Regions from separate parts of the Homo sapiens genome. Here region 1 is linked to region 2. Evidence: promoter capture Hi-C in 16 types of primary human blood cells and fetal thymus (Javierre and others, 2016). All regions are on one chromosome and are shown on one strand. The core of a region is centred on a gene start or on the middle of the fragment in contact, and the rest is flanking DNA. Distances in the headings are between cores, read along the strand shown. Region 1 overlaps STPG1 (sperm tail PG-rich repeat containing 1). Region 2 holds the start of PNRC2 (proline rich nuclear receptor coactivator 2).

Region 1 (4,886 bases), core at 824-3,323, 440 kb after region 2:
AGATTTCAGAGCAAAAAATATTACCTGCAATAAAGAGGGTCATTTCATAATGGGGTCATTATGAGCAGTCAGCTCCTCAAGAGAACATAACAGTCCTAAATGCTGATGTACCCAATAAAAAGAGATTGAAAATATAAGAAGCAGAAACTGATAAAACTGCGAGAAAAAATAGAAAATTTCACAATTATAGTCAGAGATCTCAAAACATCTCCCTCGATAATTTAAACAAGTAGATAGATCAGTAAAGATATATGAAACCTGAACAAAACTATTACCTAACCTGACCTAATTGGCATTTATAGAACACTCCACCTATCAATTCCATACAAGCTGTCCCAGAAAACTGAAGAGGAAAAGACATTTCCAAACTCATTCAATGAGGCAACCACTACCTGATACCAAAACTATATGGCATCATTACAAGAGGGAAAAAGATCACTAGAGGTCAGCAGCCCTCATAAACATAAATACATAAATCCTTAGAAAAATTTTAGCGAATCAAACCAGACAATATATAAAAAGATAATACATCGTGACCAACCCCAGTAATGCAAAAATAGTTTAATATTTAAAAATCAATATAATTCATCATATTAACGGACTAAAAAAGAAAAACCATACGAGTATCTCAACAGATTAAAAAAATCATATACCTGTAACATGTACTCTTTTTGTCTGGCTTCTTTCACTCAGCATAATTACTATGAGATTCATCTCTGTTGCTGATATATCAATACTCCATTGCTTTTTATTGTTGAGTAATATTCCATTGTATAAAAACATGATGTTTATTCACTGGTGATGTAAATTTGAGTTGTCGCCAGTTTGGGGGCATTACAAATAAAACTGCTATGAGCATTTTATCTACAAGTCTTTAAATGGACATAAGCTTTCATTTTGCGGGGTAAATGCCTAGGAGTGGAATGACTAGATCATATGTTTAACTTTTTAAAAAACTGTCAAACTATTTTTCATAGTCGTTGTACTTTTGCACATCCCCACTATTAGCGTATGAAAATTTCTATGACTTCACATTCTTATCAGCAATGGGAAGTCTTTTTAATCTCAGGCATCCCATTAGGTATGTAATGGTATCTCATTATGGTTTTAATTTGCATTTCCCTAATGACTAATGATGCTAAGCAGTCCTTCATATGCTATTTTCCCTCTGTATATCTTTTTTTTGGTGAAGTAACTGTTTAGTAGATACAGAAAAAGCTTTTCATAAGATCTAATATCCTTTGATGATTAAAAGAAAAACTCTAGCAAACTAGGAATAGGAGCAAACTTTGTTAATCTGATAAAAGGTGTCTATAACAAAAGCCTATAGCAAACAGGATACCAAATTGTGAAATATTAAAGGCTTTCCCTTGAGACAGGGAGTGAAACTAGTACAACTGCTATTATCCTTCTATTCAACGTTGTACTGAAGGTCTCTAGCCAATACAAACGCCTACATAAAATATATTAAAAATACATAAAATATATGGATGAGAAAGGAAGAAATAAAGTTGTCATTTTCACAGATTACAAGATTGTGTATGGGGAAATTGCAAAATAATCTGTGGACACCCTATAAGAGGTAATAGTTGGATTTAGTGAGGTCACCAGAATCAAGGTCAATATACAAAAATCAATTAATTTTTTTGTACAGCAGCAACAAACAATTTAAAATAAAATTTAAAATTACCATTTATAACAGCATAAAAATCAAATGCCTACAATAGATATAATGAAGATATGCAAGACTTCTACATAGAAAACTCCAAAACATTGAGAACAATTTAAGGTAACTTAAATAAAAGGATCTATACATGGATTAGAGAAGTTAATATTTATTGTAAAGATGTAAATTATCCTTAAATTGATTTCTAGAATCAATGCAATCCAAATTAAAATGAGAGTAGAGTTTTTTTAAGACATTAATAAGCTGATTGTAAAATTTGTATAGCTACCCAGATTTGATCATCGCACATTATATTCTTGTATCAAAATATCATGTGTGCACCATAAATATGTACAACTATTATGTATCCATAAAAATTAAAAATAAAAAAGTAAAATAAATTTATATGGAAATGCACTGGGGTCAAGAATAGCCAGCATAAACAAAGAAGTACAAAGTTGAAGGGCTTATGCTACTAAAGAGTTATTATAAAGTTACAGTAATTAGGACAGTATGATATTTGAACAGAATAAATAATCAAGAAGCAGAGCTGCATATGCCTGGACACTTGATTTATGACAAAGGTAGCAACAGCAATACAGAGTAGTAGAGAATGAGCAGCCTTTCAATAAATGGTGCTGGGTCAACATGGAAAACAACAGACTCGGGCATCTTCCTCAATCAAAAACAATTTCAAGTGAATTGTAGATCTAGATGTAAAAGGTAAAATAATAGAGTTTCTAGAAGAAACTATCTTGGGATGGGCAAAGATTTCTTAAGTATTAATAAAATAGACATGTACACTAAACATAAAGAGACTGATAAATTGGGCTATATTAAAATCAAGAGTTTCTGTGTCTTAGCACATTGTTAAGAGAGTGAAAAGGAAAGTCCCAGGATAAGGGATGACATTTACCTACAGCTAACAAATGACTTGTTTCTAGAATAAAGAATCCCTATAAATAAGAAAAGGACAGAATGGTTTAAAGAACTCCTATAAATAAAAAAAAGAAAAGACAAGACAAGACCCAGCAGAAGAAAATGGGCAAAAAAGTTGAACAGTCACTTCTCCAAAGAGAATATCCAAAAGGCCAGTCAACATGAAAAAGTGCTCAATCTCATTGATCTCAGGCAATGCAAATTAAAACTATTATGAGCTTAAAATGTTGGTGAGGATTTGGAGCAGCTGGAATTCACATACATTGCTTGTAAGGAGGTAAAATTGGCACAGCTACTTTGGAAAACTGTTTGGCAATATCAACTAAGCTTACCCTAAACATACCCTATGACCCAGCAGTTCCACTCCTCAGGTATAGACCCATGAAATACATAAATATGTGTCCCACAAGACAAGTACAAGAATAGTTACAGAAGTTTTTATTCATAATAGCCCCAAACTGGAAACAACCTAAATGTCCTTCAGTAGTAGAATAGATAAATAAATTGTGGTGTATTCAAACAAGAGTAATAAAATGAACAAATTACTCATAGATAAGACAAACCAACATGAAGTTAAATCTCTGAAACATAAGCCTGAGAGAAAAGAGCTCATATTGTATGATTCACATTTACATAACATTCAAAAACAAACTAAAGTTATTAATGATATGAGAAGTCAGGATAACCGTAGTGTTTACTTTTGCAGGGAAGGGAGATAATATCTGAGAAGGGACAAGGGCTTTTGAGATGCTGCTGACATTCTGTCTTGGTCTGAGAAGTTATTCCATAGGTGGTGTTTTCTTTGTGAATATTCATTAAGCTATACAATTAGGATTTGTGCACTTTTTCTGAATATATATTTATGCTTCAATTTAAAGAAATGTTAAAGAAAAAGAGAGTGCAAAATCAGAGGATAGGAGGAAGAAAGAGAGATCTCTCTGGATTTGAGAGCAGCAGCGACTCTGGAAGCCCACCAGGGAGGTGGTAACAGCCTCGAAAGAAAAAGCGCTGGAGCCTAGGGGGATCTCAAAATGAGGTTTCCTGTCTCAGCAATAATTCCTAAGCCACACTAACGAACCAGAACACTAGTTGGCGAACACTAGCAAAACCAAAGGGAGCACATGAGCTGGGACACTGGGGATCTCACCAATGTGGATGGTTGACCAATGACCTGAGTATTCCTCCCCACCCCAACCCAGCCTCCTGGGATCACACTAACTATTGGGAAAGTTCTGAACTTGAAACAATCACGAGGGAGATAGGATTTATGCTGATAATGGCTGGAGTTATCCTTTCCAACAACCCAGCAGAATGGGGACTTGCAGTCATAACTCAAGTTGAGTTCTAGGAAATAAAAAAAGATCTCTTACATATCTAAATTTGAGGATAGAGATTCTTACCAGATACATGGAACTAACAAGTCTGGGTTTTGTTTATTAGTTTTTTATTTTTTAACAGACTTCCTCCTTCTTCTCTCATCCTTTCTTCTCAGTTTCTTCCCAATCGTCACACTTGAAACAGTAGGGCCTAAAGCCACCTATTTGGTATGCCTGTAAGGATGGCCCTGTGGATATAACCCAGGACTTACTATTCCCCCCAAATTTGCTCTTATGTACTAAAATAAGCATATGTCAGGAGCTATCTCCTCCCTGCAAAGACACATGTACCTTTCTGTACTTCACTGGCACGTCTGGGATGTTTGCCAGTGCGTTCATTTTTCTGTGCAGAGTTGTCCATGTTAGCAAAATTCTGTGACGTGTTCCATTTGTTTGATGAAAAGTTCTACTGCATGTTCTCCTAAGCACCTGAAACAGCAAAACACAGCATTTGTAGAGATCATTTCACATTGGTTAATTATTGCAAATGGGTTCTGTTCTATCTACAGGGTAAACTGAGAAATGGTGTGGGTGCCGGCTGAGATCTACCAAGTGCAGTGACCCAAAGTCCCAAGCACATTGTGCTGGTGCTGCCTGCAGTAGGAACTGCGTAAGAAGTCACTGTTGATGTTGCTTACAGAACTACTGAAGGCTTGGATTTTATTTTTATTTTTTATTTTTTGATACGGAGTTTTGCTCTTGTCACCCAGGCCGGAGTGTAATGGTGTGATCTTGGCTCACTGCAACCGCTGCCCCTGCCTGGGTTCAAGTGATTCTCCTGCCTTAGCCTCCTCAGTAGCTGGGATTACAGGCGCCCACCATCTGTAATTTGTATTTTTAGCAGAGATGGGGTTTCACTATGTTGGCCAGGCTGGTCTCGAACTCCTGACCTCAGGTAATCTGCC
Region 2 (4,799 bases), core at 2,203-4,702:
TTTGTATTTTTAGTAGAAACAGTGTTTCACCAAGTTAGCCAGGCTGGTCTCGAACTCCTGACCTCACGTGATCTGCCCACCTCGGCCTCCCAAAGTGTTGGGACTACAGGCGTGAGCCACTGTGCCCGGCCCAGAAACACTTGCTTTTTGCTCCACCTCTACTTACAGATTAGGTAGATAATGTTTTCCTAATGATTTCATTGATTTTGGTTGCCACTGATACATAGCTCAAAACAGATCCTCCAGTGAAAAAATTTCAGCAAGTTGTGAGAGTCCCCCTCCTTTTCTACTTTATTTGCAGGGTCCAGTAACAATGTTTGTTACCTGCACCTCCTGAGTGAGGTTAGCAGGCTGATTTTGGCCTTGCCTGTCCTTGACTCTCAGGGGAAGAAGGGAGGGAATAAATCTTCCCAGACACTAGTTTCCCTCTCTGGTAAATTGTAAAGGAAACAGCTTTTGGGTTCCTTTAGGGCCAGGATGGAGCCTCCTTCACTGCTGTATCCCCAGAGCGTGGCATAGTGCCTGGCACAAAGTAGGCACCAGATAAATCTTTGCTAAATATTTTGTATTAAACATCCATGTATTTATTATGCATTTGGCTTCCAGTTTAGGTGAGCTGTATCCTGAGAGCTGTTTGTCGGCATCAACATTTTCCTATTTGAATTGAGAACTGCTAATAGGATTGTGCTGGTGGAGCTGAGTTTAAAGACCATATGGTTCTGGCAGAGGCTGTATCAGATGTCCCAAAAAAGGTATTATTTTAACTTCTCCTCTCTAGTTCTGAGCTGTTGCGGGCACTTGGTAAATACTAATGAATGATGAGGCTGGAGCTAGCCTGAGAGGGTGCTGGGAGTCTGGGACGCAGTAAAAGCTTTAACAGTGCTTTCCCCAAGGGCATCTCGACTCTGACCTTCTGGCAAAGAAACTGGTTCTGCCAGATGGTAGGATGGAGGCTTCTTGTTGCCCGAACAGCCCCGGCAGCCCAGTCAACAGTCAGTGTCTGCTCTGAGCAAAAAACCTTTTAGGTGCTGGAGAGCACAGATGCTGCAGGCAACCTGCAGCCTGGCCTCTTGAATCCTAGTACCTGGCTTTCAACTCGAAACCGTCTGAGCCTTCATCTGTACAGTGCGGATGAAAACAGCTCCTACCTCACAACATTATTGTGAGGATTAAATGAAATGATGTAAGAAAAAAAAATTTAGCACAGGGTAGGGGGCAGAGTAAGGATACTCTGTGTGGGTTTATACATTTCCAATGTTATGTGTGCGTTTATGCAGATAAAATTCAGAGTGGCTGAAGAGATGAATTTTTTTTTTTTTTTTTTGAGACAGTGTCTTACTCTCACCCAGGAGTGCAGTGTTGTGATCGCAGCTCACTGCAGCCTCTACTTCCTGGGCTCGGGTGATTCTCCCACCTTAGTCTCTCAGGTAGCTGGGACTACAGGCGTGTGCCACCATGCCCAGCTAATTGTTATTTGTAGAGATGGGGTTTTGCCATGTTGCCCAGGCTGGTCTCAAACTCCCGCGCTCAAGTGATCCTCCTGCCTCGGCCTCCCAAATTGCTGAGATTACAGGTGTGAGCCATGCCCTGCCATGAAAAGACTAACTCTAGACTGCAATGGCTTTGAATAATTTTCTAAACGTTTAGAGTTTAGATTTTATTCCGTATCACAATTTGGAGCCACGGAAGTGTTTTTTTGTTTGTTTTTTGTTTTTTAAAGTGACACCATTAAAAATTCATTAAATACAGCTGGCTATTATCTGGCTAGACGTCTAAGCAAACTTCTTGAATGTTTGGAAAACAGATTACACTTTCACTAAGACACCTGTTGGTTTACCACATACTTCTTATTTGAATATGATTAGCATCAGAAAGTCCCTATGCTCAAAAATACCTCTTTTATCAAATTAGATTAACAAACTGCATCCCGTAAGATGCAGTAACTTTTCTTAAGATCCAATGGCTAGAATATAGGAATTTGGGTTGGATTGGGAAGTGGGGGATAACGGTGGCAAAAAATTGAAGATTAAAAAACGAAATACAGGCCGGGTGTGGTGGCTCACGCCTGTAATCCCAGCACTTTGAGTGGCTGAGACGGGCGGATCACGTGAGGTTAGGAGTTTGAGACCAGCCTGGCCAACATGATGAAATCCTGTCTCTACTAAAAATACAAAAATTAGGAGGGTGTGGTGGCAGGCGCCTGTAATCCCAACTACTCAGGAGGCTGAGGCAGGAGAATCGCTTGAGCCCAGGAGGCGGAGGTTGCAGTGAGCCGAGATTGTGCCACTGCACTCCAGCCTGGGCGACAGAAGGAGACTCCGTCTCAAAAATAACGAATTACATGAGATTTATAAAAAGTTGGTAAATATAAATTCTGTAACGTAAACTTGGGTATATATGTGTATACACGAACAAACTGTGAATGAGACTGATTTTGTACCGTTTGGCCCAGAATTATTCACGCTCATTGAAATTAGTGCTCTTTTAAAAGATTCACATTGGGTTACTTATACATTTACTCCAAAGAAATTGCCATTTTCCCCTTACCTGCATCTGGCTGGCATAATCAACTGAACAATATTCTCTTTCTTCCCCTTTTTCACTTACAAGTGGGGCAGAAAGGGGAGGAGAGCAGTCCTCATTCTTTCAGCAAACTTACTGTGCACTTACAACGCGCGAAGGCGCTGTGCTCAGAGAAACAAAACCTAACCGGTTGTGGCCCTCGAGGGTGTGTGGGTGGGGAGAGCTGCAGCCACAGGAAACGGTAACACGGCGCGTAAAGGGCTCTAATTGAACTTAAGGACCAATGGGGCCACCAAGCAGGAAGTGACTGACTTGCCCGCGTGTGTCTGAACCGCCTTCACAGGGAGGCAACTTTTGAGTAATTGCGGGGCTGGAGGGTGGGGGCACTGGAGGGAACCGCGGGGAGGCGCCGGCTTCGGACGCGGAGTTGTGGGTGTGGGAGAGAGGCGACCCAGAAGCCGAGGCCCGAGGCGGGAGGGGGCTGCGCCCTGGCAAGAGGCTTTCCGGAGTATCTTCCATCTGTCAATACAGGCTACAGGACTCAGTGGCCCTAATTCGAGAACCAAACGTCCCCCGCCGGTCAGTCTTTTCCCCCAGGGCAGTCCCAAGGGCGGCGAGCCCGCGCGCACGAGAGCCGAGCGGTAGGAAGAGCCGAGAGCTAGCGGCCGGGGCCTCGGCGGGCCAGGGGCGCGGAGAGGCCGCCGGAGAAAGGACTAAGACACCGGTGGACCGAGCAGTTACTCCCGGCATGCTCCTCCTCCCCGGGCAGATTTCAAACCCTCTGCAGCCCCACCTCCGCGCCTTCGCCCCCGGCCAGCCCCAGCAACAGGCGGCGGCCCGCTTCTCATTGGCCAGGCCCGCGCTGTCGTGTTTTGATTGGCCGCGGAGCCTCCCGGCCCTGCTTCTGCAGTCGCTGCCGACTCCATTTTGTCGGTAGAGGCAGAAGGAGAAGGTCGGGTTGTAGAAGCTGGGGTGGCCGGCAGCTCGCTCATCGGTGTTCGTGGGCTTTGTCGGTCCGTGCCTCGTCTCTCCCTGGAAAGGGAGGGAGGCTTCGACGTCGAGAGGGAGCCGCTGCCGCGTTAGTTCCGAGCTTGAAGTCAGTAAGTAGCGGCTGCGCTAAGGGCGCGGCCATGTTGGTGGCCGCGCTCCCCATTGTTGGAGGAAGGAGGCGAGCGGAGGCGAGATCCGGGTAACCCGGGCGGGCGCGGGCGGTCACGGGCGGTCGCAGCGCCGCGACCCCTGCGGCTCCGGAGAGATGGGGCCACTGGGAAGCCAAGCCCTTGTGGCGTCGGAGGAGGCGTTTTCCGGGTTCGAGTTGGGAATTACTCACAGTCCGGAAATGGCAATTTATTTAGGGTTGTTTATCTGTTTGGAAAGCTCTCTTACCCCTTTGAAAGGAGGGGGCTTAACTATTTGGTAACTTATTTTCTTGGAACATCAAATTAAAACCAAACCTTGAAAGTTAAGCTGTTCCCTCTAGGGAGACATTTTTATATATTTAAGATGGGCTTAGACTGTTAGGGCTTGTGAGAACTTATTTTAAGACGGGGAGGAGGCGAGAGCGTTCATAACCAAAGGAAACACTGCGTGATGTCTACATGTTCCAAGAGACTGAAAATGGATGTGACATGTGTGGAAAGATTGGAAAATTCTGGTGGGAGTTTAAAAACACGGTCTCTTTAGAAAATCCGCCTGAAGCCAATTTTTTGATATGACTCAACATTTAACACTTCCTTGATTTTATACGCGAGAGAATCTGAAGGTCTTTCCCAGGAAAAAGATAAAGATAAAACTTATTGCGGGACTTGGAGACACTTACAAAAATTCCCCAGGAGTGACTGGATCTCAAGGGTGAAGAGTTTTTTTAAATGGTCGTGGTTATAAGGTCAAAGAAAGCCATCTTACGAGAAATTTTCTACCTTTTAGTTCAGGAAGTAGCCTTCTTTACAGTCAACGATTTTCGTAGTAAATCTAAATGATCACTTTCTCAACGTGTTTTTGAAATAATGAAGTAATCTTTACTTTTCTAGCTAGGACTTCTCTCAAACTTGTGTGCTGAGGAGACTCAGATGTTGGCCTCAGCTCCTAGGCTGAACTCAGCAGATCGGCCCATGAAAACTTCTGTATTGAGACAAAGGAAGGGATCTGTCAGAAAGCAACACTTGTTATCTTGGGCTTGGCAGCAAGGAAGAGGACAGGTAGTGGAGATCCTGCAATCTGAAAAGCAGACTGAAAGGTAATCATCATAATGGGCAAACATTTTATGATGGAACCAT

Evidence for each region. The method cuts DNA at HindIII sites, captures the fragments that hold promoters and counts their contacts. A CHiCAGO score of 5 or more calls a contact.
Region 1: a contact is called between a fragment that was not itself captured here and the fragment with the promoter of PNRC2 in region 2, in 1 of 17 cell types (M2 macrophages). The highest score is 5.3, in M2 macrophages.

Annotation. Positions count from the first base shown.
Region 1 is chr1:24,397,047-24,401,932 of GRCh38, forward strand. STPG1 (sperm tail PG-rich repeat containing 1) reads right to left here. Exons shown (of 9, transcript NM_001199013.2): 2 at 4,273-4,410. The coding sequence starts at 4,342. Among named protein-coding and RNA genes, the nearest start is that of STPG1, 14 kb to the right of the region's middle. The HindIII fragment of the contact is 1,714 bases long and covers 1,217-2,930 here.
Region 2 is chr1:23,956,376-23,961,174 of GRCh38, forward strand. PNRC2 (proline rich nuclear receptor coactivator 2) reads left to right here and starts at 3,453. Exons shown (of 3, transcript NM_017761.4): 1 at 3,453-3,623; 2 at 4,554-4,759. LOC124903877 (a long non-coding RNA gene) reads right to left here and starts at 1,739. Exons shown (of 4, transcript XR_007065541.1): 1 at 1,727-1,739; 2 at 141-143. RefSeq lists enhancers at 1,683-2,311, 2,490-2,549, 3,450-3,719 and silencers at 2,630-2,729, 3,140-3,249. The HindIII fragment of the contact is 4,127 bases long and covers 870-4,799 here.